Regions from separate parts of the Homo sapiens genome. Here all the other regions are linked to region 7. Evidence: promoter capture Hi-C in 16 types of primary human blood cells and fetal thymus (Javierre and others, 2016). All regions are on one chromosome and are shown on one strand. The core of a region is centred on a gene start or on the middle of the fragment in contact, and the rest is flanking DNA. Distances in the headings are between cores, read along the strand shown. Region 1 overlaps HMGN3 (high mobility group nucleosomal binding domain 3). Region 2 overlaps TTK (TTK protein kinase). Region 3 overlaps LOC124901351 (a long non-coding RNA gene). Region 4 overlaps LINC01621 (long intergenic non-protein coding RNA 1621). Region 5 overlaps PHIP (PHIP subunit of CUL4-Ring ligase complex). Region 6 overlaps PHIP (PHIP subunit of CUL4-Ring ligase complex). Region 7 holds the start of LCA5 (lebercilin LCA5).

Evidence for each region. Contacts are between HindIII fragments. The CHiCAGO score rates a contact against its expected background, and 5 or more counts as called.
Region 1: a contact is called between a fragment that was not itself captured here and the fragment with the promoter of LCA5 in region 7, in 1 of 17 cell types (M0 macrophages). The highest score is 5.1, in M0 macrophages.
Region 2: a fragment that was not itself captured here is called in contact with the fragment with the promoter of LCA5 in region 7 in 1 of 17 cell types (total B cells); the score reaches 5.4 in total B cells.
Region 3: a fragment that was not itself captured here is called in contact with the fragment with the promoter of LCA5 in region 7 in 1 of 17 cell types (fetal thymus); the score reaches 5.6 in fetal thymus.
Region 4: a fragment that was not itself captured here is called in contact with the fragment with the promoter of LCA5 in region 7 in 1 of 17 cell types (monocytes); the score reaches 7.9 in monocytes.
Region 5: a fragment that was not itself captured here is called in contact with the fragment with the promoter of LCA5 in region 7 in 4 of 17 cell types (megakaryocytes, erythroblasts, naive B cells and 1 more); the score reaches 10.8 in megakaryocytes.
Region 6: a contact is called between a fragment that was not itself captured here and the fragment with the promoter of LCA5 in region 7, in 1 of 17 cell types (megakaryocytes). The highest score is 7.3, in megakaryocytes.

The regions. Positions count from the first base shown.
Region 1 is chr6:79,202,554-79,206,300 of GRCh38, reverse strand. It overlaps HMGN3 (high mobility group nucleosomal binding domain 3), which reads left to right. Exons shown (of 7, transcript NM_001201363.2): 4 at 2,671-2,721. Among named protein-coding and RNA genes, the nearest start is that of HMGN3-AS1, 29 kb to the left of the region's middle. RefSeq lists an enhancer at 1-239. The HindIII fragment of the contact is 241 bases long and covers 2,155-2,395 here.
Region 2 is chr6:80,008,764-80,012,573 of GRCh38, reverse strand. TTK (TTK protein kinase) reads right to left here. Exons shown (of 22, transcript NM_003318.5): 5 at 1,617-1,760; 6 at 1,026-1,140; 7 at 773-845; 8 at 594-688. Among named protein-coding and RNA genes, the nearest start is that of TTK, 6.0 kb to the right of the region's middle. The HindIII fragment of the contact is 2,315 bases long and covers 349-2,663 here.
Region 3 is chr6:79,953,007-79,956,749 of GRCh38, reverse strand. All of the region lies in intron 1 of LOC124901351 (a long non-coding RNA gene), which reads right to left. It also overlaps the pseudogene GAPDHP63. Among named protein-coding and RNA genes, the nearest start is that of ELOVL4, 7.3 kb to the right of the region's middle. The HindIII fragment of the contact is 263 bases long and covers 1,382-1,644 here.
Region 4 is chr6:79,805,808-79,809,602 of GRCh38, reverse strand. LINC01621 (long intergenic non-protein coding RNA 1621) reads left to right here. Exons shown (of 5, transcript NR_131786.1): 3 at 2,262-2,389; 4 at 3,555-3,707. Among named protein-coding and RNA genes, the nearest start is that of LINC01621, 4.5 kb to the left of the region's middle. RefSeq lists an enhancer at 1,932-3,131. The HindIII fragment of the contact is 4,092 bases long and covers 1-3,795 here.
Region 5 is chr6:79,057,791-79,061,825 of GRCh38, reverse strand. PHIP (PHIP subunit of CUL4-Ring ligase complex) reads left to right here. Exons shown (of 40, transcript NM_017934.7): 5 at 1,008-1,158; 6 at 1,250-1,348. The region is part of intron 1 of LOC124901346 (a long non-coding RNA gene); the gene reads right to left. Among named protein-coding and RNA genes, the nearest start is that of PHIP, 18 kb to the left of the region's middle. The HindIII fragment of the contact is 5,266 bases long and covers 1-4,035 here.
Region 6 is chr6:79,039,038-79,042,867 of GRCh38, reverse strand. PHIP (PHIP subunit of CUL4-Ring ligase complex) reads left to right here. Exons shown (of 40, transcript NM_017934.7): 7 at 1-25. All of the region lies in intron 1 of LOC124901346 (a long non-coding RNA gene), which reads right to left. Among named protein-coding and RNA genes, the nearest start is that of PHIP, 37 kb to the left of the region's middle. The HindIII fragment of the contact is 1,838 bases long and covers 642-2,479 here.
Region 7 is chr6:79,535,671-79,539,439 of GRCh38, reverse strand. It overlaps LCA5 (lebercilin LCA5), which reads left to right and starts at 2,010. Exons shown (of 8, transcript NM_001122769.3): 1 at 2,010-2,275. It also overlaps a transcript of SH3BGRL2 not described here. RefSeq lists enhancers at 393-966, 1,497-1,546, 1,541-2,114. The HindIII fragment of the contact is 3,782 bases long and covers 1,052-3,769 here.

The DNA.
Region 1 (3,747 bases), core at 1,026-3,525, 330 kb after region 7:
GGGAGAGGCTGCTGCAAAGGTCTGTCACGTGCCCTGGAGACATTTTTCCCATTGTCTTGTGCATAACATTTGGCTCCTCATTACTCATGCAAATTTCTGCAGCCGGATTGAATTTCTCCTCAGCTCAGAAAATGGGATTTTCTTTTCTTTCGCATTGCCAGGCTGCAAATTTTCTAAACTTTTCTGCTCTGTTTCCCTTTTAAAACTGATTGCCTTTAACAGCACCCAAGTCACCTCTTGAATGCTTTTCTGCTTTGAAATTTTTTCCACCAGATACCCTAAATCATCTCTCTCAAATTCAAAGTTCCACAAATCTCTAGACCAGGGGCAAAATGTTGCCAGTCTCTTTGCTAAAACGTAACAAGAGTCACCTTTGCTCCAGTTCTTAACAAGTTCCTCATCTCTATCTGAGACCACCTCTGCCTGGATTTCATTGTCAATATCATTATAAGCATTTTAGTTAAAGCCATTCAACAAATCTTTAGGAAAGGTCACAGTCATTCAGCAAGTCTCTAGGAAGTTCCAAACTTTCCCACATTTTCTTGTCTTCTTCTGAGCGCTCCAAACTGTTCCAACCTCTGTCTGTTACCCAGTTCTAAAGTCACTTCCACATTTTCATTATCTTTCAGCAGTGCCCCACTCTTCTGGTACCAATTTACTGTATTAGTCCATTTTCACGCTGCTGATAAAGACATACCCAAGACTGGACAATTTACAAAAGAAAAAGGTTTAATTGGACTTACAGTTCCATGTGGCTGGGGAAGGCTCACAATCATGGAGAAAGACAAAAGGAGCAAATTATGTCTTACGTGGATGGTGGCAGGCAAAGAGAGAGAGCGCTTGTGCGGGGAAACTCCTGTTATTAAAACCATCAGATCTCATGAGACTCATTCACTAATCATGAGAACAGTGCAGGAAAGACCCACCCCCATAATTCAATCACCTCCCACTGGGTTCCTCACATGACACATGGGAGTTGTAGGAGTTACAATTCAAGATGAGATTTGAGTGGGGACACAGCTAAACCATATTAGGAAGAGGTGTCAGTCACTAGGAGGACTTAAGAGCTGGGGTTGCTGTTGTGAATCTCCAGGCAGTTAAGGGAACAGACCTTGTAAGTCAAATGAAAACCAAAGTTTAAAACAAAGCTTTTCCTGAGCACCAGAAACCAGCAATATAAGCACCTTCCACTGAGATCATTCCCTGTGCTACCGAAACAGAGCCTCCTCAGAGGCCAGCAGGATTACAGACTACAAAACCTCATTTCCTGGTCCTATCAAAACACTTGAATGCTGGGTCAGAGGGAAAGGTCTGTCCTACAGAAAATAATATAAAAGGAAATTGTTTACTGTAAATGGAGAAAACATGTATATTAATACAGTATATCAAAGCTTAGGATGACAAAATGTTTTAAATTCTGAAAATGTAAGAGCCATGAAAGCTGCTGTATTTGGCCTGCAGATTTAGGGTGATAAGAAGATTAATAAAAACATTTCTTAACTTTTCAAGCTCGATTTTCTTTTTTTATTTGAAAGGTCATTTCTAACAGCCAATCTTCTGAAATCAAACTGTCTACAATTTCACTTTATGCCCTTGATGAAAAGGGGCAGATTCAGTGTGAACGTGAATTACCTAGAGGCACTAGGGAGGAACATGTATTTTTCTCCATAGGGGGAGACCCTGGCCAGTGTTTTCTATTTTAAAACCATTCTTCTAGTGCCAGGAGAGATGTACACTTTTTTCTAGTTCTATGAGAGAAATATTTGCCCTAAAATATCCACAGAAAACTCCTGGTGTAAAATGGTTATCTTTCCCCAGTTATCCGCATGTGCCACCTGGTCTCAGGCCCCTGGGAAGCTGGCCAGGGCTGAAGCATTGTGTGGCAGAGGGTCCATGGTCACACGGTGTGCAGGTGCTGCTCATGGGAACTGGAGGAGGACCACATGAGGCAAGAGAAAAATAGTTTCCTAGGGGACTGTTTGGCTAATAATATCTGTGAAAAATTTAAACTTTGGGAGCTAACAGTAGACATTTTATCATTATAATGATGTTCTCAATAAAAACCTTTAGACACAAATGAGCCCAGCATATCTGGTTAGACAAGAGATTCTCACCTTGAGCTGGCATTGGGGAGAATAAAAGTAGGAAGAAGCTTGGCAACAGAACTCGAAATCTACATTAGAAGTGGAAGGATTTGGAAGTGATTTTGAAATACTTCACAGGCAGCAGTCTTCATTACCAGTTGGGCTTTGCTAGTGATTGTGCTGTGATTTCTAGACTGTTAGGAAGGCCAGTGCAACTGAATTCATTGAGTCCTTTGGCCATGGGCCTGAGTCATTCCTCTTGCTGCTGTGCTGTGATAAAAGGAAGAGCAGACACATTGGAGATAGAAGCTTAGACCTGTTCCCGGAGAGCTATTCTGGACCAGGGAATAAGGAGTCGGCTTTTCAATCTCACCTGCAGTTCCCTTGTGAACCCAGGGTGAAAATAGTTATGAAATGCAGAGATCTTTATGCTGTTACCTGGTGCTGAAAATAGGATGAAATACTTTTTAATGACCAAAGCCATGTCAAAATGGATAGTTGTCTTTGTTAGTCCTTTTGTGTTTCTTTTGGTGCTGATAGTTTTTTTTTTTTTTCAGTATTTGTGTAATTTAAATTATCTTTGCAGAAACCTGCTCCACCAAAACCTGAACCCAAACCAAGAAAAACATCTGCTAAGGTAAGAAGTGCTGTTTCCCACTTTTGGCTTTTTAAACAATGAATAAATTATAATTCCCTACCTCAGAATCATTCAAAGAAAGGCCGTATTTAATGATCCAAACTGAAACCATTACCACTGTTACGGGCTTGCTTAAAGGCATAAAGCACAGTTTTCTGCGTTAATAGGAGTGTGTTTTCCATTTGGTCAGTGAGGCACGGGAAGTCAGAGATGTTGCTCTGAGAAGCCTCATGTCCGAAGGGGGTTTGGCAGCAGCCTCGTGAACATGCGGTTCATGCGGCACACAGCGGGGATGAGTTTGGGCCCTGGCAGCACTGCCCCACTATGGGAGGAATTTGGGAAGGGGCTTCTGACTTCATCTAACTGGATTTCGCAGGCCAGTCTGAGGTCTAATAATAATAATATAATAATGCCAGCAGGTAATATTGGCATTTATAAGGCCCTTATAGTATGGCAGATAAGGTTGATTGCTTTACTCATATGACCTTCACATCAACTCTGTTGAAGTAGATACAAATATCCTGTTTTGCAGATGAGGAAACTGAGGTACAGAATTCTTAGGGAACTTACCCAAAATGGCTTTTCTGCACTCTGCCCTTTGGTATTGTCCCATGTGAATTGTTTAAAACTTATGTGTATAGTGGCATGAGTAGGTGATTTCAGAAACAGAACTCACTTTTGTTGTTTGGTCTTAAAATTAGGAACTTTTCTTCATCTGGGCTTCATTTCCCTGCACCTTCCCAGCTTTCTAGTCATGCAAGCCACATGTCTCCACGTGAGGGGTTCATTGGAAAGCAGCCACAGAGCCACCCCCTGGCTGGGTTCTTCCCCAGCTCTGCTTCCTCCTTCCCCAAGTCCTGCAGCTGCTCTCTCCATGGCAGAACCACTTCTCCCCTTACTGGAGGGGAGGTCCACTGAACAAATCCAGGAGAGGAATCATTGTGTTTTCCACAGAAGAGAAAGTACACTGGACTTTCTGTGCAACCTGTTACTACATTTTCACAGAGACTCATATTTGTGCAGTGT
Region 2 (3,810 bases), core at 257-2,756, 470 kb before region 7:
GAATTAAGAATAGGCCAAAATAACTCTCCTTTAGCTGAGCTACAGGCTACATTCCCATTTCTTAACAGGGAATAAACAAGCAAATTGAGGGAAGGAGAACACACTGGATGTGATGAACAGTAATTCATCTGTACCTAACCTGTCCCACTTCTTGAAGCACTAGACTCAAGCAAAAGAATAATCATCTATCCCACTGACAGCGATTCTCCCCTTGAACTATCTGGAGCAAATATTTGTTCCCAGACCTCCTTCTACCCGTTATGGAGACTCTCAAACAAAACAGGAAGAGATTCTTAGCAGACAGCCTACCCGTAAGTGACAAATCCTCAAATATCAGTCTTTTAAGCTTAATGTTGACTTAATATTTTTTCCTTTTAAAGCTCCTTTAATGAATATTTTTAATGAGTGAAAAAGCAAAACAAAGTTATTTTCTCCACTCATTCCTTTGTTCCTGACAACATTTAGAGATTATCTTCTAAAACTGAATAAAAATTTAATCATAATTACTATTACTCAGTAAAAGACTTTAAGACCATTCTGCCATTAATCTTCCCATACGGACAACAAATTTTAAAAATTAAAACTCAACATACCTTTTCATAAAACAAGGTACAACTGAATCATCTGTCTTCACATCACAATCTGGGCTATTTAGAAGGTTAACTGGGACTCTTCCAAATGGGCATGACTAAAAATATTTTGAAAGATTAAATAACCAACTAGGAAATAAAGACTATCACCACCTTAATCAAGCAGATTGAAAGTAACTTACCTGTTTAGTTTTGTTAGTTTGTCTCAATGAATTCCGGTAACCTATTTCTGCATCTTGTGGTGGCATGTTCTCTCTAAACAGAAAGAAAATACCCCCAATTTTTCAAAGAACAATATTAATATGTATTTCTACTCTACTGCTAAACATTATCACACACATGAAAACATATATGCAGATACATGTAATTACATTAAAAAACACAGATGTACTTACATAGAAGATGAACATTTAAAAACTGTTTCCGTTTCCTTACCCATATAAAAACCTGGCTTTAGTAGTCTGTCCTCTGGAATCACAACTGTTGTTCCTATTCTGTAAATGCCCAAGTGAACCGGAAAATGATTCTTGGGCAGTTAATACCGTAGATGCTGTAAAAATTTTGAAACTATGATTAAATTTATAAGAAATAAGACAAGTACAAAAAAGTGATCTTACAAATAAGAATATTTTAAAAGTCAATTCATAGGAAATACTTGTCCCCAAGTAAGATATGCAGACATGAAGATGATACCAAGATAATTATCTAACTACTTCTTCAAATTCTCTTAAATTATATAACTATTTCCCCAGGGTAAAAGCACATTCTCTATTTCCAAAAGCAAAAAAAAAAAAATTCTCTTGCTTAGAGTTGTTTTTCATGTGTTAACGAAAGTTTAGTTAGCAAAAAAGACAAATTTGCATGGGGTTGTAGAGACTTTTTTACTTCTCAGTCTTACCTCCTTTACAATTTAATCTTAGATTTTAACCATTCTACATAAATAATATTTTTCTATAAATTATTATCCCGAATCTTTATTTGAAGTACTACCTACCACAGAAAGTATTAGTATACCTTAATAGTTACCTGATAAATTCTTCTTTTCCTCCTCTGAAAGCAGCTGCTTTTTTTGGAGGTTTAAATTCCGCAGGGCAATTTCCAGCATTTCTAGTGGTACTGCTCCACGTTCTACAGCTTTTTGAAGAAGTTGTTTACTTTTTTTGACATTACCTAACAAAGCAAAAGATAATTGTCATTTTTAGGCAGTAAAATGCCCACCACCCAGACCACCCAGATACGTATTCATCAGGACCTAGAAAAAAAAATCAAAAAGACTTAAGCAAAAATATTTATTCCAAGGCTCATGTATTTTATTTCATAGGCAAGTAAGCAATCTCTCACTTTTTATGCAGATAACCAACTCTCTTCTGATAACAATGCATACCAAATAGTTTCCTTGCAATATGTAGCTGACGTAATTTTGCATTAGTTTATCACCACTGTCCACTTTCAGAAGTAACAGAAGTGTAACAAAGCAGTTACCAACAGGGGACAGCAAAGGCCAATCACAACAGTTAGAAACAGGAGGGCATTCTAGATGTTACAAAAGTGCCAAGAGCATCAGTCTCTTACAACATGCTATAATAAGTATCATTCATAATGACATTTAGTTAAGGGAAGGATGACATCTTTTGTTAAAGAGCATCTTCCATCAAAAGGATTTTCGGGGAAAAACATAATAAATACAGATTAATCTTTAGCTGTCACACTCAGCTATACCAGCCTGAAAAAGAATGCAGAATAACTGAGGAACTATCATAATTACCTTTCTGAGTATGGACAGATTACCAAAAAAATTGGTAAACTTACCCCTAGCATTTGACATATAAATATTAAATGTATACATCACATATCTTACAGAATATTATCAACATTTATGGGAGCCATTGAGCTATGCTATGCACTTGGTACTTAGCGTATAAAAATGCTTAAGAGATGATCTCTAGCTTCTGGTAGTTTATAAATTTTTAAAAATATCTTTGATAGTGCTTACATCTACATTTACTAAGTAGTGGTAGAATTTCATGTATTGTGTATTTTAGCACAAGAAAAGAGAGAAAGGCTTAAGAAGCTTAATTAATCAGATAGCTTAGTATTGAGATCAGAGATTTCTTTAAGAATCTGGTAAAAACTGAAATGTCCTCCATCCCTATAAAAATACTCACACACCAGACTCTGCATAGGACTTCAGGGATGCTGCATTATTTCCTGACAGCCAAGCCATCAACTGTGCTCAAAATAATCATAATTTGACCACACTGCATTACTGTGCAATGCATTTGACCACATTGCATCACTGTGCATTACTACCACATTGCAGATAAAGTGGTATAGATAAAGTTCGTCTTTTTTACAGATAACTCAATTTAAGAGTTTCAATATTTACATGTTCTAAACATGTAAAATTTATGGTTGTTATTGAGAGGCCACAATACCTCAAGAAATTTTCAAGCAGAATGGAGAGAAAGAAGCCTTGCCAAATTTTCTCTAACAAGCAAGGAGGAATCCATTTTTCTAGAGAAGAAAGGGATAATAGTTCTAAAAAGTAACCTGATAGAGCAAAGGACATATTGGAGAAGACAATTACTAGGACTCAGAAATCATCTGAATGGGTAACAATTCAGGGTTCTCAAATTATTTCTGAGTCATATAATTATTTTCTCCAGGCTCAATCCTGGGGAATACTCTCCAGTGACCAATCCCTGCTATGGAAACCATCATGGGGATTCTTCCAATAGTGTTAATATGTTTATCACTGGCAGTAAATTGGATCACAGTTGTAGCAGAAACAAGGCAGTGGGAGAATGGAAACACCTGGCCAGAGGGCAGACTGAGGGTGTATCCAAAGGCCCTGGAAAATGAGAAAAGACTAAGGAATGGCCAGGTTAAAAATGTCTTAGGAAGAGATTGTCTTGGTCCTACCCAAAAAAATCCAGACTATGAAGAACCAAGTGAGCAAGAAATAGTTTCTACAGCAGTTTACTTTTTTATTTTAAAGAACTACCAATTAACGCTACACACACACACACACACACACACACACACACACACACAGATATATAGTTTACTTGACCACCAAGTTACATAGCTACACTTTAATGTACATTTTGGTGCTATGAAACCATAGCATAAGAAAAGTTTATGTAAGCTCTAGATATTTAAAGCTCTAGCTTAAATATCTGATATCCTTCTTCCTACAAATACTCAGTGAAGCAGCTAC
Region 3 (3,743 bases), core at 264-2,763, 420 kb before region 7:
GAGACACAAAAACCCTTCAAAAAATCAATGAATCCAGGAGCTGGTTTTTTGAAAAGATCAACAAAATTGATAGACTGCTAGCAAGACTAATAAAGAAGAAATGAGAGAAGAATCAAATAGATGCAATAAAAAATGATAAAGGGGATATCACCACCAATCCCACAGAAATACAAACTACCATCAGAGAATACTATAAACACCTCTATGCAAATAAACTAGAAAATCTAGAAGAAATGGATAAATTCCTCGACATATACACTCTCCCAAGGCTAAACCAGGAGGAAGTTGAATCTCTGAATAGACCAATAACAGGAGCTGAAATTGAGGCAATAATTTATAGCTTACCAACCAAAAAAAGTCCAGGATCAGATGGATTCACAGCCAAATTCTACCAGAGGTACAAGGAGGAGCTGTTACCATTCCTTCTGAAACTATTCCAATCAATAGAAAAAGAGGGAATCCTTCGTAACTCATTTTATGAGGCCAGCATCATCCTGATACCAAAGCCTGGCAGAGACACAACAAAAAAAGAGAATTTTAGACCAATATCCCTGATGAACATCGACGCAAAAATCCTCAATAAAATACTGGCAAACCGAATCCAGCAGCACATCAAAAAGCTTATGCACCATGATCAAGTGGGCTTCATCCCTGGGATGCAAGGCTGGTTCAACATACGCATGTCAATAAACGTAATCCAATATATAAACAGAACCAAAGACAAAAACCACATGATTATCTCAATAGATGCAGAAAAGGCCTTTGACAAAACTCAACAGCCCTTCATGCTAAAAACTCTCAATAAATTAGTTTGGATACTTTCTGTTGCTGTTGTTGAGACAGGGCCTCACTAGGTGCCCAGGCTGATCTCAAACTTCCAGCCTCAATTGATCCTCCTGCCTCTGCCTCCCAAAACGTTGGGATTACAGGTGTGAACAACTGTGCTTGACCTTAAAATTTTTTATAGATATTTCATTGTTATTGATTTCCCATTTAATCCCCTTGTGGTCAAGTTCTATATTATTTCCTATTTGAAATTTATTAAGAGTTATTTAACAGCCCATAAAATTATAGATCTTTGTGATTGTTTCATGCCCATGAATTTGGCCTCCACCAGGTCAAATGATTTACAGTGTAATACATCTCTTCTATATTATAATTTATCTTTGCCTATTTATTATATTAATTATATAATAGGGGTATTAAATTCTATAACAATAATCTTGAATTTGTCTAATTTTTTTCTTAGTCTGTCAAATATTGCTTTATGTATCTTAAAGGTCTGTTATTACGTGCTTACCTTTTACTGGCTCTTTTATCTCTACTAACTTTGGTCTGTCCACATCCTGACATCCTTTAAGGAAGTGAAAAATAAAAAGCTTCTATTTTGCTTTAGGCACTTTTCTTTTGGGTTTTTCTGTAATATGTAATCATATCTAATGCTAAATGATACAAATACTATGACAAAAAAGTACAAGACACCGTGAACATGTGTGTAACGGGGATCTAACCTTGTTATTGGAGTCAGAGTTTTCCTAGGTCATACATTTAAGGTAAAGTGGGTATTAGCTCTAGTCAGAGGTTGTGAAAGAGTATTCCAAGAGGGAGAAAGTTATGTGCAAAAGCCCTGAGTCAAGGGAAGCTTGGCTCTTTGGAGAAACAGAAGGAGGTCCTGATTAGCTTCCCTGTATACTAAAAGCAGAAGTGGTAAAGGAATGATAGGCATTCTAGATCACACTTTCATTAGGCAAGAAGAAAGATTTACAATGTTCTAAGCTTCTAGATGTGGAGGCTTTGGAGCTTCCTGAGAGTACTAGAAATATTAAGAGATTTTAAGATGAGAAATGCCATCATCTGACATGCAATTTTAAAAGATACTCAAAGTACTGTGTGAGAATAAATTGTAGGAGGAAATAAATGGATGCAGAGAGATCAGTTAAGGGGTGATTGAGGCCAGGCACAGTTACTCACGCCTATAATCCCAGCACTTTGGGAGGCCAAGGCAGGCGAATTACGAAGTCAAGAGTTCGAGACCAGCCTGACCAACATGGTGAAACCCCATCTCTACTAAAAATACAAAAATTAGCCGGGCATGGTGGTGAGTGCCTGTAATCCCAGCTACTCAAGAGGCTGAGACAGGAGAATCACTTGAACCTGGGAGGCGGAGGTCGCAGTGAGCCAAGATCATGCCACTGCACTCCAGTCTGGGTGACAGAGCAAGACTGTCTCAAAAAAAAAAAAAAAAAAATGAGGTGATTGAAGTTTGAAGTGTTTAAGGTGGGAGAGAAATGATGGAATTTTCGGTTAAATTATATGCAGTAGAGCTGAGGGAAGTGGAAAAAATCAAGATATATTTTGCAAGCAGAATTAATAGGAGGTGGTCATGAATTGGATGTGTGTTGGAAGGGAGAATATTATAAAATGTCATTGATCACTTTTGGCATGTGTGGAAATAGGGAAATATGAAAGAAGAACAGATTGTGGGAGGGGGGGAGATAGGTTTTTAACATGTTGATTTTCAAGATGCCTGAGTTACATTAAAGAGAACCACACAAGCTATGAGATACATGAGCTGGAAAGAAGATCTAGGTTGAACACATATATCTGAGAGTTATGAATGCAGATGGTAACCAACGCTATGAGAGTGCATGAAATAATTTAGGCAGGGCTCTCTGCTCCTCCTGTTTGACAGACAGCTGCATCTTCTCTTGCATTGCCAACCACATCCCTGAGACACCATGGGGAAAGTGAAGGTTGGAGTCAATGGATTTGGTTGTATTGGGCGCCTGGTCATCAGGGCTGCTTGTAATTCTGGTAAAGTAGATATTATCGCCATCAATGACCCATTCATTGACCTCAGCTACATGGTCTACATGTTCCAGTATGATCCCACCCATGGTAAATTCCATGGCACCGTCAAGGCTGAGAACGGGAAGCTTGTCATCAATGGAAATCCCATCACTATCTTCCAGGAGCCAGATCCCTCCAAAATCAAGTGGGGTGATGCTGGCACTGAGTATGTCATGGAGTCCACTGGCATCTTCACCACCATGGAGAATGCTGGGGCTCACTTGCAGTGGGGAGCCAAAAGGGTCATCATCTCTGCCCCCTCTGCTGATCCCCCCATGTTCACGATGGGTGTGAACCATGAGAAGTATGACAACAGCCTCAAGATCATCAGCAATGCCACCTGAACCACCAACTGCCTAGCGCCCCTGGCCAAAGTCATCACTGACAACTTTGGTATCGTGGAAGGACTCATGACCACAGTCCACGCCATCACTGCCACCCAGAAGACTGTGAATGGCCCCTCCAGGAAACTGTGGCGTGACAGCCACAGGGCTCTCCAGAACATCATCCCTGCCACTACTGGGCTGCCAAGGCTGTGAGGAAGGTCATCCCTGAGCTGAATGGTAAGCTCACTGGCATGGCCCTCCGTGTCCCCACTGCCAACGTGTCAGTGGTGGACCTCACCTACCATCTGGAAAAACCTGCCAAATATGATGACATCAAGAAGGTGGTGAAGCAGGCATCAGAGGGCCCCCTCAAAGGCATCCTGGGCTACACTGGGCACCAGGTGGTCTCCTCCGACTTCAACAGTGACACCCACTCTTCCACCTTCAATGCTGGGGCTGGCACTGCCCTCAACGACCACTTTGTCAAGCTCATTTCCTGGTATGACAATGAATTTGGCTACAACAACAGGGTGGTGGACCTCATGGCCCACATGGCCTCCAAGGAGT
Region 4 (3,795 bases), core at 507-3,006, 270 kb before region 7:
TTGTACCATAGTCCCACTTATTAATACTAAATTTTATATTTTATTAATATTCAAAATATCCAATCAATATAAATTCCTGTCAAGATGGTAATATATCTATAAATTCAGATTCTGAGTAATGACCTGATATTAATTGAATTTATTGCAGGTTTTTAAATCTTTACTACAGTTTAATTCCATCCTATAACTAAGTTTGTTAACAAATGGCCCTGTTAATATATAATTAAGTACCTGTGTATTGATTTGCTTAATTACATCTAAACAATACCAAAAAATAAAAACCACACAGATGCACCCAGACTGATTTAAATTGCAGGATATCATGAAAATTAAAGACAGACTTCTGTGTCTTATTTCCTGAGGATTGTTGGGGAAATATGCACTTTTGGCATAAGCAAACTACTTAGAACAAAAATAGCAACCATTCTGGGAAACATTTACATTAGGTGAAATCTGTCTCTGAGGCTGTCTGCCTTCCACCCAAGAGCTCCCTGACATGGCAGCGTCCCCTCTCCTCTCTATTCTCTCACCTTCCTCAGCTGGAGGCCAGTCGTGTATCTCATGTCACATGGCCCTGGTTAGTAACAAGGCATTATTAGCAAAGACAGCTATTTAGAGGTAGGGTTTTGAACTCTCTGAGGATTATCATTTTCTTCATCTTCACTATCTTCATCCTCATCTTCAATCAACAGTTTTGAGAGCAGACTGTGTACAGAGCACAGAGAGCCACTGAAGTTGTTCCCCTCTCCCCAAAATAGTAACCTTTATCATCTAGATGAATGAGCTCCTCTGATAAATTCTACAAGTATTGTTTCTGCTTCATGGGCATTGAGAGTGGCCTCCTCCATCTTTACAGAAGGAAATTATCACCTCCAAGTTAGACTAGTTTATTCCTAGAAAATTCCTTCAATACCCCCTCATCTGTAGGATATTCATTTAAAAATCCTATCAGCTTTTTTTCTCAACAGTTTTCAGGAAGAGAGCTTTGGAAAATACTAAAATATCAGTCTAACAAATTCAAAGACATATATTAGGGCCTTTAAAACCTCATACACTTCCCCTTGGCCTCCCGGATAATGCTCCTTAATCCTAATTAGCTTTTACAGCATGATTAGTGTTTGCCAATGATGATTAGAGGTGCCAAATTCACCAAACCAATTAGTAGCAGAATTGTAGGATCCTGGTGCGGCTTTATTTTGATTCTGATTCACCTTTTACATCATCTTTGTCGTTGCCTCATTTGTCCAAGGTAGCAATGCTTCTATATTTCTGTGTTCTCATTTTGACTGTAGTGTTTTGATTGAGAGTCTGGAATGTTGTTCACACAAGGGGAATCTTGCCCAAAAGAATATTACTTCTAAGGTCTTCACTCAGGAGTTTAGTCATGTACTTGTGCTGCCTTTGTATTAAAACTCTTTGTATTAAAACCCTTCTGATTATGGTTGAATCTGTTCCCCACCTCTGACAGATACACCATAGGGTGACCCCTAATGAGTCATGCTCTTAATCCCCTTGCCATGAATGTGGGTGGAAATCATAACTTGCTTTTAACCATAAGATACAACAAAAGTAAGGAAATACCACTCCTGTAATTATATTTATGGCAAAGTCGAAGGGACTTTTTTCAGGTATAATTAAGATCCCTAATCAAGTGACTTTTAGTTAAACAAAAGAGCATTTACCCTCAGTGGGCCTGGCCAAATCAGTGAGCTTTTTAAAAGAGGGTCCAGGCCCTCCCTGAAGTTCGAGACCTGAAGCAGTAAAGACTCTTATTTCTGTTGCTGGCTTTGAAGAAGCAAGCTGCCATTAATTCTACAGTCATAAAGACATGAATTCTGCCAACAACCTGCAGGAGCTTAGAAGCAGATCCTAGCATTTCCATTGCATCCTCCAGATGAGAATGCAATCCACCTTGATTTCAGCCCTGTGAGACCCTGAGCAGAGAACCCAGTTATGACATGCCCAGATTCCTGACCCACAAAAACTGTGAGATAACAAATGGGTATGGTTTTTAGGCCATCAAATGTGTGATTATTTATTATGCAGCAATAGGAAATTGATGCACCACTCTTGCAATAAAGATACTTTGTTTTATTATCCAGTATCCCATATATCGTTTTTAAATAAGTAGATCATTATACATGAACTCCACACAAGGGCTTCTTATACTTTGTTGTTAGAAAACTTACCCAAGTCACATCTCAGGCTCTAGAGATGACTTACCATCTAACCCTTATGTTTCCTATCGACTTTACTGTTAGATAAACTAGAAGATTTGGTGCCCAGCATGAAGAATAGTTCCTTTCAAGTACCTGTATGTCCTGAATGTATTCCTTCCAGTGGGTTCTTGGTCTCGCTGACTTCAAGAATGAAGCCTTGGACCCTCGTGGTGAGTGTTACAGTTCTTAAAGATGGTGTATCTGGAGTTTGTTCCTTCAGATGTTCAGATGTGTCCAGAGTTTCTCCATTCCAGTGGGTTCGTGGTCTCGCTGACTTCAGGAGTGAAATCGCAGACCTTTGCAGTGAGTGTTATAGCTCTTAAAGGTAGTGCAGACCCAAAGAGTGAGCAGCAGCAAGATTTATTGGAAAGAGCAAAAGAACAAAGCCTCCACAGCATGGAAGGGGACCGGAGCGGGTTACCTCTGCTGGCTTGGGTGGCCAGCTTTTATTCCCTTATTTGGCCCCGCCCATGTCCTGCTGATTGGTCCATTTTACAGGGTGCCGATTGGTCCATTTTGCAGAGTGCTGATTGGTCCATTTTACAAAGTGCTGACTGGTGCATTTACAATCCTTTAGCTAGACATGGAGTGCTGATTGGTGCGTTTTTACAGAGTGCTGATTGGTGTATTTACAATCCTTTAGCTAGATAGAGAGCACTGATTGGTGTATTTACAATCTTTTAGCTAGATACAGAGCACTGATTGGTGCATTTTTACAGAGTGCTGATTGGTGCATTTACAATCCTCTAGATAGAAAAGTTCTCCAAGTCCCCATTCGACCCAGGAAGTCCAGCTGGCTTCACCTCTCACCTGGACACATCTGTCCTTTGGCTACCTTTACATCAGTGGTTCTTTCACATTTTGGTCTCAGGGTTTCTTTACATCAAAAATAATTGAGGACCCAAAGAAACTGTGTTTATTTGAGTAATGTTTATCATCTACTACATTAGAAATTAAAATGGGATGAATTTTAAATCATGAGAATGCACAGGCACACATTCCGTTAGCAGTCAATAACATCATCACTCAGCATGGGAAAACCCACGGGTTGCTTGTGAAAGAGTGAAAGGAAAACACGAGGTAACATCATAGTATTATTACAAATTGACCTTGCAGATCTGAAGGGTCTTGGGAACCCCTGGAAATCACACTTTGAGACCACATCTTGAAAACCATTGCTTTATGTTTTTAGCATTTTTTGTTTTATATTGCATTAAATTTTATTAAGCCAACTTACATAAGTTTATAAAATATGAGGTAAACTTTTTTTAAAAAATGAAAAAGGCAAAATACTAGCTATGTAATTGTGCTGTTTATTCCCCACCTGCCCCACAGATATGTGCTCACCCTTCTCTGCTCAGCTCTGTGCCTGGGAGGCTGACCTCTACAAACTGCATCACCAGGCTTCCGCCCTCTGGCTTCCAGATGGATTTGGCCAATGGGCAGCACCAGTGGGAAAGGAGAGGACAGGAGGAGAGACAGGCTGAGGTCATGTATTTATCCCCCTCTTCCCTACCCCATGACAGTTCTGACAGGCAGCCCCTCCGTTTCTCCAGCTCTCAGCTGAGCTCCAGTA
Region 5 (4,035 bases), core at 744-3,243, 480 kb after region 7:
AAGGAATTCATGTTAAAGTTGCCATTACTTGGTAAACTTGAGGAACAATTTTCAAATTTCTTGGTCTTAGGACCCCTTTACACTTACTAAAATGTATTGAAGTTCCTTTATTTGTGTAGCTTATAATCTATTGGTATTTACCATATTAGAAACTTAGCATTTAACATATTGGAGACCTATTAAATAATACTAATAAACTAATCTTATTTTAATATAAGTAACATTTTTATAATAATTATTCCCAAACAAAACAAATTTGTGAGAAGCGTGGCATTGTTTTACATTTCTGTGAATCTTTAATATCTGGCTTAATAGAGGAGACATTTTCCTATCTGCTTCTGCATTCAGTCTGTTAAGACATCACATGTTATGTGTCCTGTGGAAACCTCCACCGTGCATTCATGAGAAAAAGTGAAAAACAACTAATATAGTGTTATTCATAAGTTTTATCTGAGGGACCTCCAGGGGTTCCCAAAACATACTTTGAGAATAGCTGAACTAGATACTACTGTGGAAATTTTTTTCTAACTTGATAGCTAATTATGAAGTAATACAATAGTATTTTTTTCCAATATAATTTTATTTAGATAGTGAATATTGTTTATTTACTGAAAGACTAATAAAAATATTAGCATTTCATGTCATGGTTTCAAATGCCGGTATAAATTAAGCAGTATTTTGAAGTTGTTCCAAAAGTGCTCAAACTTTTTATAGTGGGTAGCTTTATTTTATGATTGAAAGATATTTAAAGCAGCAGTTGGAATTTTGCCTTTCTCTCTGTAAGGTTTTTGGTAAATTATGAAATTCAGCATAGATGTTAAGTGTTCTTAAATTTTTTAATAACAAACTATCAGTTCTTAATTCTTAATTATTCTGGAGATTTACTTTACATCAAAGACGCAAAACAAAATATTTTATACTTGGATGAATTTTTTTATTGTTGCTCAAAGATTTTGAAAATTAAAATGATAAACTGAAACCTACTATATTTGTCTTTTACATAATAGGTGAAGTATTACAGACACTTAGCACCTGATCACTTGCTGCAAATATGTCATCGACTAGGACCTCTTCTTGAACAAGAAATTCCTCAAAGTGTTCCTGGAGTACAAACTTTATTAGGAGCTGGAAGACAGTCTTTACTACGCACAAATAAAAGTATGAAAATTTTCTCATAGGATTTAGACATTATTTATCTCACTTTTGTTTTTGTGTTCTTTGTATGCATAAAAATACATGTGTTTAATAGGCTGCAAGCATGTTGTGTGGAAAGGATCTGCTCTGGCTGCGTTGCACTGTGGAAGACCACCTGAGTCACCAGTTAACTATGGTAGCCCACCCAGCATTGGTGAGTTGTTTGAGTTCACTAGTAGTTAATAGCCTCTTGGTAAAGAGCTTTTGAAAATGAAAAGGTTTTTTAGTTACTGTGGTATTAGAGAACTTCATATTATGTACATCTGCATTCAAAAAGAAAAAAATAGATTTTTTTTCTTAGTAGTAGTTTTAATAGTGAAAAAGTCATGTATAATGAGGGATTGTGCACATTGCACCTTATGTAGGCCAATTAGCTCATTGGAATTTTATTTTTACGAAAGTTCCATATTAAGGTATATATTATTAGGTCGAGTTAGTAGAATCAATATATAATTCAGATTAGTTATAATGGTAGGAGACAAAAGTAGTTATCTTTTTAAGAGCACAGTACTTTTTTTTTTTTTTCTTTTTTTGGCTAAAGTTTCAAAGAGGGAGTACTGATGCAAGTATGTCTTCTTGAGATGCCTCCTAGGTTCATGCCTTTCACATCTGCTACTACCAGGCCCTTGCCTTACCCGGATTAATACAGCATCATCCAAACTAATCTTCTTGCCTATGGTGTCTTCTATCTCTCTCTCCCTCCCAGTATAGTGTGTAACACTGTAATAGTAACCTTATTCAGTTCTACCTTTGTTGTGTCACTCTTCTGCTGAAGATAGTATAAAGAGGTTAAGATATTTTAATAGTGTTGTACTTTCTCTAAGTGTACTCCTAATTTTCAGAGACCTTCAAAGTTCAATCATAGCTTCTTTTCCACTCTCATGTTCCTGCCTAGCCAGGAATGTTACTCTTCTTTCTTCCACCTGTTCAAATCTTACTTAATTCTTCCTTTTCTGGATACTTATTATACAGATCGTAAGTTTATATGACTTTTGTTTGGCATTTTTATATATATATATATATATATATATATATATATAATTTTGCTTTCAACTTTTTGTTTCCTTTTATTTCTTGTCTTTTAAAAATATAAAAGTGGCTTTTAAAAATACAATATGATAATCTGTGTTTTATCTGGAACATTTAGTCATTTACATATAATCATTGATGTACTTGGGTTTAAATCTACTATCTAACTTGCTACTTTGAAGGCAATCCCTTTTTCTCTAATTGTTTTTAAGATTTTTTCTCTTTCTGGTTTTCTGCAGTTTGAGTATGATATGTCTTGATGTTAATTTTTTAAAAATTTGTCTTGCTTAGATTCTGGAAATGTCTTTTATTGACATTGAAAAATTCTCAGTCATTATCTTAAAATAACCTCTGTGTTCCTTTCTCTCTCCTTTCCTATGGGACTTAAACACTTTATCTGCTTCGTTATCCTTTCTTCTATGTTTTACATGTTTTTGACTCTCTGATGTATTCTGAATTGTTTGCTCTGACTTACTTTTCAGAGATAACGTATGTGATATCTGCGTGGTGGGTAATCATCTATGATTTTTTTTAAAACATAAGATTGTCCTGTTTAAATAATTTCAATATATAATCTTGCTATAATAAACAACCATTAAAACAACAAAAAAATTTGAGAGACGAGGGTATATTTGTACTTAGAAAAGTATTCTAAGGTGGTATAATAGGATTCCTGCAAGAAGGGAAAGATAAAATATTATAGGAGTTTTCCCATTTAGGAAAAGTTTATCCTGTCTTTGAAAAACTATAGATCCACATAATAAGGAGAACACGTTATGCTTGTTCTTTCAGTACATTGTCAGTCAGGCCTGTGGTAGGTAATGAAAGTGTAAGAATGATTGATGGTAAATAACATTTGCTTTGTGAGTAATTCCTGTATGCCAGACACTGTTCTAAGCATTTTCTATTTATTTACTCTTTTAAAACCTTAAATGTTCTATAGGTAGGAACTATTATGCTTATTTTACAGAGGAGACTGAAGCATGGAAAGATTTTGGTAACTTGACCAAGTTCACACATGCAGTGAGAAGTGAAGCCAGGATTCAACCCAGACTGTTTGACTCCATTATGCTATGCTTTATTCCCAGTAAACTGAATTTATTAATAATAACACTTGGCTACTCAAGAAAATTGGTGTTAGTCATTTTTTGTAAAAGGGAACCAAATATTTATAAAATCAAATATAATATTTTAGGCCACGTCGTTGATGGTCAGATTAGTAAATACTGCTGACAAGGAGAGAGGAACATTTATCTTCCCTTATTCACAGGAGATACATTCTGAGATCCGTAGTGGATGTCGGAGACAACAGATGGTACAGAACCCTATATATACGTATGGCAAAAATACCTTGGGTTTTGCATCCAAGCATAGAAATGTAATTGATTCATTTAGGTAACAGAATTAATTGCCAAGCAGGTGATTGATGTACCTTTCTGAAAGACTATTTTATTTTTAGAGTTTAAGATAATTTTTTTCTCTCTCTCTTCCATTGTGATTTTCAGGAAAATCTTTGCTTTATTTTAAGAAACACCTGTAGTGGATTGCCCATTTTGCCTACTTTTAAAAATTGTATTTACATATATTTTTTGAAAGCACTGCAGAGAAGCTAGACTGACCAAAATGACTCAACTTGCATAGTCATAGGTTAGTGTCTGTGTTTTGCTAGAGTTCACCATGGTATATATTTTGTTTTATTATCGCTATAAAGTAATGAACAGGATGGTGTTGGGGAGAAATAATTCATCAGTCTTCTTGCCAGAATAGTTGCCTGCATAGTGGTACAATGCATTATTTCAAGCTGTTACAGTA
Region 6 (3,830 bases), core at 311-2,810, 500 kb after region 7:
TCGAACTGGCAGACGGATATTTACTGTAAGTAATTGCTAAAGTATTATTTATATTCATATATGTAATTGAGGAAATATTGCTTATAGGTGAACTTGAAGTAAAACCTTGCTTTTTTTTCTTTTAATAGGAAACCGGAAATTCAGGTGGTTTCACTTACTCTAACAGAAGAGTTTAGTTAAATTTGGACTTTATCCAAATTCAGAAAGTTTCTAAATGACATGTTGCAGCACAGTCACAGTTATTATATGGTTGTACATCATGAATAAGTATGGTTCTCAACATATATCAAATACACAGTTTGACATTTTGCAAAATGGCATAAAATAATTTTAATTTTGAACTAAGGACATCTAAGTATGTTGAGAGATTATTAAATGTGCCTTTTTATAATTGTATGAGATTATTGAATATACCTTTTTATATTATCTGTAGAAAATCACTTGCTTGTCTATGAGAAATTTCCCTTAAAATAGTGATTTTAAAAAAGCTAAAAAATTCTGAGCATATCTAATACTCTTATTACCTGTTATTCTTAACAGTTCATTCTTCAAAATATCTGATGTTTTGTTTATAGAGCCTCTTTGGGTTTGTTTATTTGTTATTGTTTCTTGTAACCTGTTGAATAGAGAAAAGCAAAGCTTTTGAGCTTTATTTTAAGTGAGAAAATTACTTTTGGAAATATTTGATTTTCAGGTGCCTTAACATCTACATTCATTAAGCATAATACTACACTATTATGATGATATTTATTATTAAACACTACCCTGTGGGCTGAAGGTATGCATTCATTCACAAGGTTTTTAATTTCTTTTGAAATAAGAAAATTTGAAGTGGAAGTTAAATGGAAATTTTCCTGTCTTTGAAGAGAGCAGCTGTGAATTTTACGTAGTTATGACAATTATAGATTCCTCTTTTTAGTAAATTTGCTTGTAAACTGAGACCTATTTATACCTACTACTTCTCCTCTATCCATACACCCAGTCATCTGTAAAACAGCTAAATAGCAGGATGTAGGAATGCATTTTTATACTTTTCTTTTCCCTTGGCTCTAATCTACCTCAGGCATTTGCACATCACTTCTTATATCAGTATTTTCCCTTTTTACGTTCTCTTGTATCAAGTATTATTTTCAGAGTGGAAAATAGGCATCTCTATATTTGCTGAAGTGCCTGACATACCTACAGTAGTAATTTGCTCTCAAATAGTAATCGAAAATTAATTTAGCCATTCAAGTTTAATATGGGTATATTCAAATTCACCTCTCAAAAACCTTAAGTAAATTTGATTTTTCTAATGTTTGAAAGAATTCTTTCAAAAACAGTAATAAATTAAAATAATGAAAAAGGAGCACTATATTGTGCCAGTAGGTCAGTATAAAGTTATGCCATTGTAAAGAACCTTGTAGGAATTCTTTCTTTAAAAATGATAGGGATTGTAAGCATTTGTTTATCATATTTTATGAAGCATTTTACATGTTTTGATATTAATTAGACATATAATCTCCTGGAATTTTTTTAGGGAGAATGCAGTGAAATAGTGTGCTTTTTGCTATCTCATGAGTGTGGTAGGTACAGACTTGGAAGAGCTTTTTGAACCAGGGTTCAGCATGCTGCTGCCTGCGTCTCAAACCCAGTTTGTCACTTGTTCTTATAAATGCAATTTTATTGAAACACAGGCATGTTCAGTTGTTTATATATTGTCTATGGTTGCCTGTGCACTACAACAGCAGAGTTGAGTAGTTTTGACTGAGAACATATGGCCTGCAAAGCCTAAAATATTTATCCAGCTCTGTACAGAAAAAAATTGCTATCCTTTTCTAGACATTTGATTCTTTCTTTTAAGGGCATGTGATTTAGAGAACAAGAATAATATGCGAAGAGGAAGCTGCTTGTTGGTTATTTCTTTAGTTGAAAGCACATCAATTAAGAGAAGAAAAGTAGCACTGTACTATTTTATATGGTCTTACCAAAGTCTAAAGATGTTTATTTTTTAAGAATGTGATAGAATTTGTTTTGCTAAATTCAGTCTCATTTGTAATTTTTTACTGGTGGTTTGGAGTTACAGATTTCAGAATGTTACCTTACAATAAGAAATAACGAAGATATGAGGGCACTATTTTTTTGAAAAATTCTTGTATTTTTATTATTTTCACTTCAAGTGGTGGTAGGGTACACATATGTTCACTATTCATATTGCTCATTAATAAAGTGGGTGCTGAGTGTTTTTTGCATTTCACTAGGCACAGACTAGACGCTAACTAGTCCTATGGAAATCAGTCTTGAAAATAGATAGAATCAGCCTTTAAGATAGTAGATCATGATTGACCAGTGAAACACTCCTGTGAGAGAACATACTGTTATTATTTTTGGAGGTAACAATTTGGTAATGGATCAACCAGTATTTCCTTTTTATATAATTGGTATTTTAAGACCTTGCAGATTTATTTCTAAGATATTTGTGTATATATATTTGAAAGCTTTTTCCAAGGGATTCTCTTGAGTCCTTTCTGAACAGGCACAGCTGGAGGCATACAGTACTGTGGTTAAAAGCATCAGCTTTGACATCAGAGGGCTTTTAGTCACAGCTTTACCACTTCTACTAGTGAAACTTTGACAGATTACCTCATCTCTTTAATCTCCAGTTTTCTCATCACCTAAAGAGAGAGGGGAGTAGATGATAATAGTACCAACCACATAGGATTTTTGTGGGATTACATGAAATAATGCATATAATTAGTACTGAACAAAATAGAAAGCAGTCATTAGGTTTTTCCTACTGCTACTTATAGATTTAAGTAAATTTTATCTTTTATTTTTTATCCAAATAAAATCTTATTTATAAATGGTATACAAGAATTAAAAAGGAAATCATTGTAATTGATAATGAAATTCTGTATTAGGAAAATGTATCATTATTTTGTATGACAGTATTTTAAGAATGGGTGCTTTCCCAATTATTTTAATGAGAAAAACCCAAGGAGGGAAATAGCATAATTGCCAAGTCAGATTTTGTTCACTAATTCTCTTTTAGCCTTTTAATGTTTTTTACTTGGTTTTAAAATCATTTCCTTAAGTGACATTTAACGGAGAAAAGCAGAGTTAATGAATTTTCACAACTAAGGCACTCAAAAGTACATGGAACGCCATATAAAAAGCAGAGTTTTCCCCCCTTTTCAGAAACATAAATTGTCTCTCTGATTCTAATTAATATGGTATAATAAAGAAAATGAGTTTATGCATTCCTTTAATGAACTTCAGAGTTTTATGAACCAGCCACTGTTTTAAGCAGTTGGGATATAGAATTGAAAGTAGTATTTGTTCTTGGAGAGTTCACAGATGGTAAACAAACAATATTGATATAATGTGATAAAACCTTGACAGAAGGTGTACAAGGTACTGAGATACCATAGGAGATAAAGATACCTAATCCAACCTTGTGGTAGGAGATGGTAAGGGAAATTTACTAGAGAAGTAACAGCTTGGTAAATTTAGGAGTCGAATTGGATATTGCAGACTTAGGGAAAGGCAATTACAGACTTTGGGAGAATGTAACATGCAATTGTGTATTAATGGATATGGCATAGAATAAATATGGCTCATCATAAAGAACTAGCGATATTGGTGTGGTACAAAATCAAGATACTTTTGTGACCTGCTAAATAGTGGGTTTCTTTTCTGAAGGCAATGGAGAGCTAATGATTGATGTGGTTAGAAGAGTGAGGAGAATTTTTCTTTTCATTGAACCCTTTTGCATTATTGTAGAAGATGGATTCAAACTAACTCTATATACAGAGAAATTGGCAAAAAGTTTCTGGCAGTGATCTATAAAA
Region 7 (3,769 bases), core at 761-3,260:
TGATTTCTGTTAACTATAATTTCAAGTGGCAGAAATATAAATGTGGTTTTGATAACTTTGTTTCCTTTATTTCTGAAAAGCAGAATCCTGTGTGGTACTGAAATAAAATGTCAAATGGTATCTTAGAAAATTCTAGCCCTATCAAAAATAATATATAAAACCATGTAATGTCATAAAACTTTTAAAACTGCTTTCTCATATTTTGGGGTAACCTTTTAAAATGGTAATTCAATAAACTAGTTTTTACTTCTGTAAATTTATACATTTTTTGGTCTTTTTTCAAGGTCAAACTGATACTGTTATTTTGAATATGAGGGGGTGAATAAAATTGCACACTGTAAGAATCCTGAGACTATGTTACACACAACTAGACAATTTTTTGGATTCTCCCAGCGTCTTAAATATTTTCTTGCTTACCAACAACTTCTTAACCTGTAGGTGAAACACAATGAAGGCACTAAATCCGAAACCACGAAATTTGGAAGCAGACCTAGGCTTGTACTCTGGCATTACTACTTACTACTTTCGTACCTTGTGGTAGATACTTTAACTTCTCTGAATCTGCTTTCTCAAGTATAAACAATGAATAACAATACCTGTCTGGAGTCATGAATGAAGATGGAATGAGATTACACTGCCTGGAGCATTCTGAGTGCTGAATAAATGGTGGTTTCATTCTCAGCTCTCCTTCAGCAATCCTGATCTGACGCTCCTGTGACAGACATTTGTCCACGTAAATACGGTATGTTTTCTGATTCTTCCTAGCAACTTCCTTTATAAGTAATCCACCCATACATTTACATGTTAATTCTAACAGAGTCCATAATAACGAGTGAGCTATTTTAACAGTGTCAGCAGAGACAGATTAAAGAATTGATGAAAAGTAATTCCGTGCAATTTAGGGATTACTCATCTTATTTTCACTAACAGATGACTGCCATCTTGTACAGATGTATTTCGCATACAGAAAATTACATTTAATCACAATATTGTTTGGGTGGGTTAGTCTGTAACTTGAAGTAAAATGTATTGACAGGATAAAATGAAAGCTTTGAAACAGTGCAAAGGTGGAAAAACGAGGTTGAGCGAGAAGCAGGAATTACCAATCTTCATGGTTAGAAGATTCATTAAACGCATTTGCCTTCAAATATTAGATTCTCTACAGAATGGTGGTAAAAAGGCCAGTGAGAAATTAACAATAGTGAGAACACCAGAGTAGTGTTAAACCACCTTGATAATCAGATGGCTCGGAGCAGTTTAAAGCCCTCACGAAAGAGGATTTTTTTTTACCTTCCCTGTCTCCCGCAATTAATGCCATTTCTAAAAGAGAAAATATGTCACACATCAGCGCTCAATAGGCTGACATGCTCCTCAAAACGTTCCTTAAAAAAAAAAAAAAAAAAAAAAAAAAAAAAAAAAAACTTGTGTGCAAATATTTCAGATGCCATTCCACCCCAAACCCGTTCCAAAACCTAAAAATCACTTTCAAGCCAAACTCACGGCTCGTTGGTGATTCACAGCCAGGATCTCGAGGCAGGAACAATAGTGCACTCACCCCGCATCCTCCTGAATCAGCCATTTCGGTAAGAAGATCCAGAAGCACTAGCAGTTTGTTTGTAATTTGTTTACAATTTAAAAGCAAGTTATTTCCCAAAGGAAATCTAAGCAATTGTTAAGTGTTTTACATTACGCAGTCGCCAATTTTACAATTCATATCATGAACCCACTTTGCCCTCCGCCCGCGTCCCTCTCGGAGCCCACGACGCTCAGCAGTCGAGCCCTGGCACCGCACAGCCCGTAGGAGCCTGGAGCGCTCCGCGTTTTGCCCCAATTTCCCTACTTGGGGGTCTCCGCTACAGCTAGAGCGGTCGGCCAATGGAGACCTTCTCCCGCACTCGCCGTCCCGCCTTCCAGTTCCACTGAAGCCAATAAAAAGGGCCGTCTGGAGACAGAAGCCAATGGGAGCTCGGGTAGAGTCATCATGATTGGCTGCGGTCTCTTCGTAGTGCAGTCTAGGCCTCCGCCTCCGTTACCCTGGAGCCCAGGTTACCGCCGCTGCCACCCAGGAGCCCCGATCCTCGCCTCTGTCCCATCCTTGTGTTCAAACCTCCCGCATCTCGGCAACCTCGGCACCCGCCCGGCAGCCTCCGCAGGAACCAGGCACCCGCTCTTTGGCGGTCAGACGCCGAGGCCCCAGCTGGGAGTTTGGTCCTAAGAGGGAAGGCAAGGAGGCGGGACGCCGCATCGGCTCTGCTGAAGAGCCTGCGGGTTGGAGGTGGGCTTTGAAGTGGGCGTGGAGACGGCGGGGGAGGTGGAGGTGCGAGGTGAGGCTGGGTTGAAGCGTCTGGTAGCTAGTGAAGGGGCGTTCGTGGATGGGGGCCTGCGGGTGGTTCTTAAAGCAGGGAAGATGAAGGGATTAGGGATGGGGGAGGATGTAGGGACCGCGAGGAGAAGGAAGACCTAGGAAAATGAGTAAAGAGCTCGGCTTCTGAGAGGGTCCCGAGGAAGGGAGGTTGACCGGCACTGGGGGGACTGGGAAGTTAGGAGGAGAGGAGCTGGGAAAGGGTATTTACTTCCTGGGACCGAGAAGAGAAGAAAGGGAGCAAGCGGATCTAGAGAAGTGGTTGTTATTAAAACAAACAAAACAAAAACCCCGGAGGCCCGTGGAGACTCAAGACTAGAGAGGAGGGGCAGGGCCAAGGGCCAAGACGGAAAAGGAGGCTTTGGTAGCTCTCGGATAATAATAGATGTGTTATTATTAAAACTGTGGTTAGAGTGGAAAGCCGTACTTGTCCAGGCTGTGATACTTCTATACATCCTTCAGGGATGGGATGAGAGGAGTAAAGATGGTTAGAAATAAAAGAAAAAAGAAAGTGCCTTTTTGGCATACTCGAGTTGGAGTCGGTACTCAGATACGTGATGTTTACGTTAGATAGACCGTGGGATAGTGTTTAACAGTGAAGAGCCCTGGTCCAGTTCATCTGATATAAACCCCTTTTTTGTTCACTTTGTTCTTTGGAAAGTATACTTGGGCACATACATATTTATTCCCCTCCTTTATCTTCACGTTAAGAACTTGCATTAGAGATATCTTTGCAATCAGAAGTCATCATTTAGTTTTTGGCAGAGGGAGTGGCTATATGTGTTTTAGAATGGTAAAACCGATGTTTCCAGTTCTTTACTCATTCCCTCTTTCTTTTGCATGGTTATTTTAATCTATGTTTTTTTCCAGTTGTTCCACATTTAAATTCTATATTACCATTTTAAATATTTCACTTTGTGATTTCCCATGTTAGCTAGTATGTTTATCCAAATAAGTTATAGGAAATAATAGTTTGTTTTGATTCTCTAAGTTGACAAAGTATCATTTTAAATATCAAAAAGTAGTTTGTGACTTTGGAAAAGAGATTTTTCTTCTTTTGTGAGTCACATCTCTTCCGTTACACATATTGTGGAACTATAATTCTGTAGGACACAATGGAAGCCCATTAAATAAAGATGCTACCCTTCTCTTGGGTTCTTCATCTGCCTGTCATTCTTCAACTCCTTTGTGGGATCTTCTTCCTCGGCCCACCATATTTCATTATTGTTTTTCCCAATAATCCAGTCTTCAGTCTTCCGTCTTCTATTTTTTACTCTGTGTTCTTGGCTGTGTTCTTCCTCTCCTTTGGCTTACACTATTTGTGTTTTATTAACACTCTCCCAATTTTTTATTTCTGATCTGGAACTTTTGAGTTACTGTCAAACTTTTGTAGCTAATTTTTGGTAT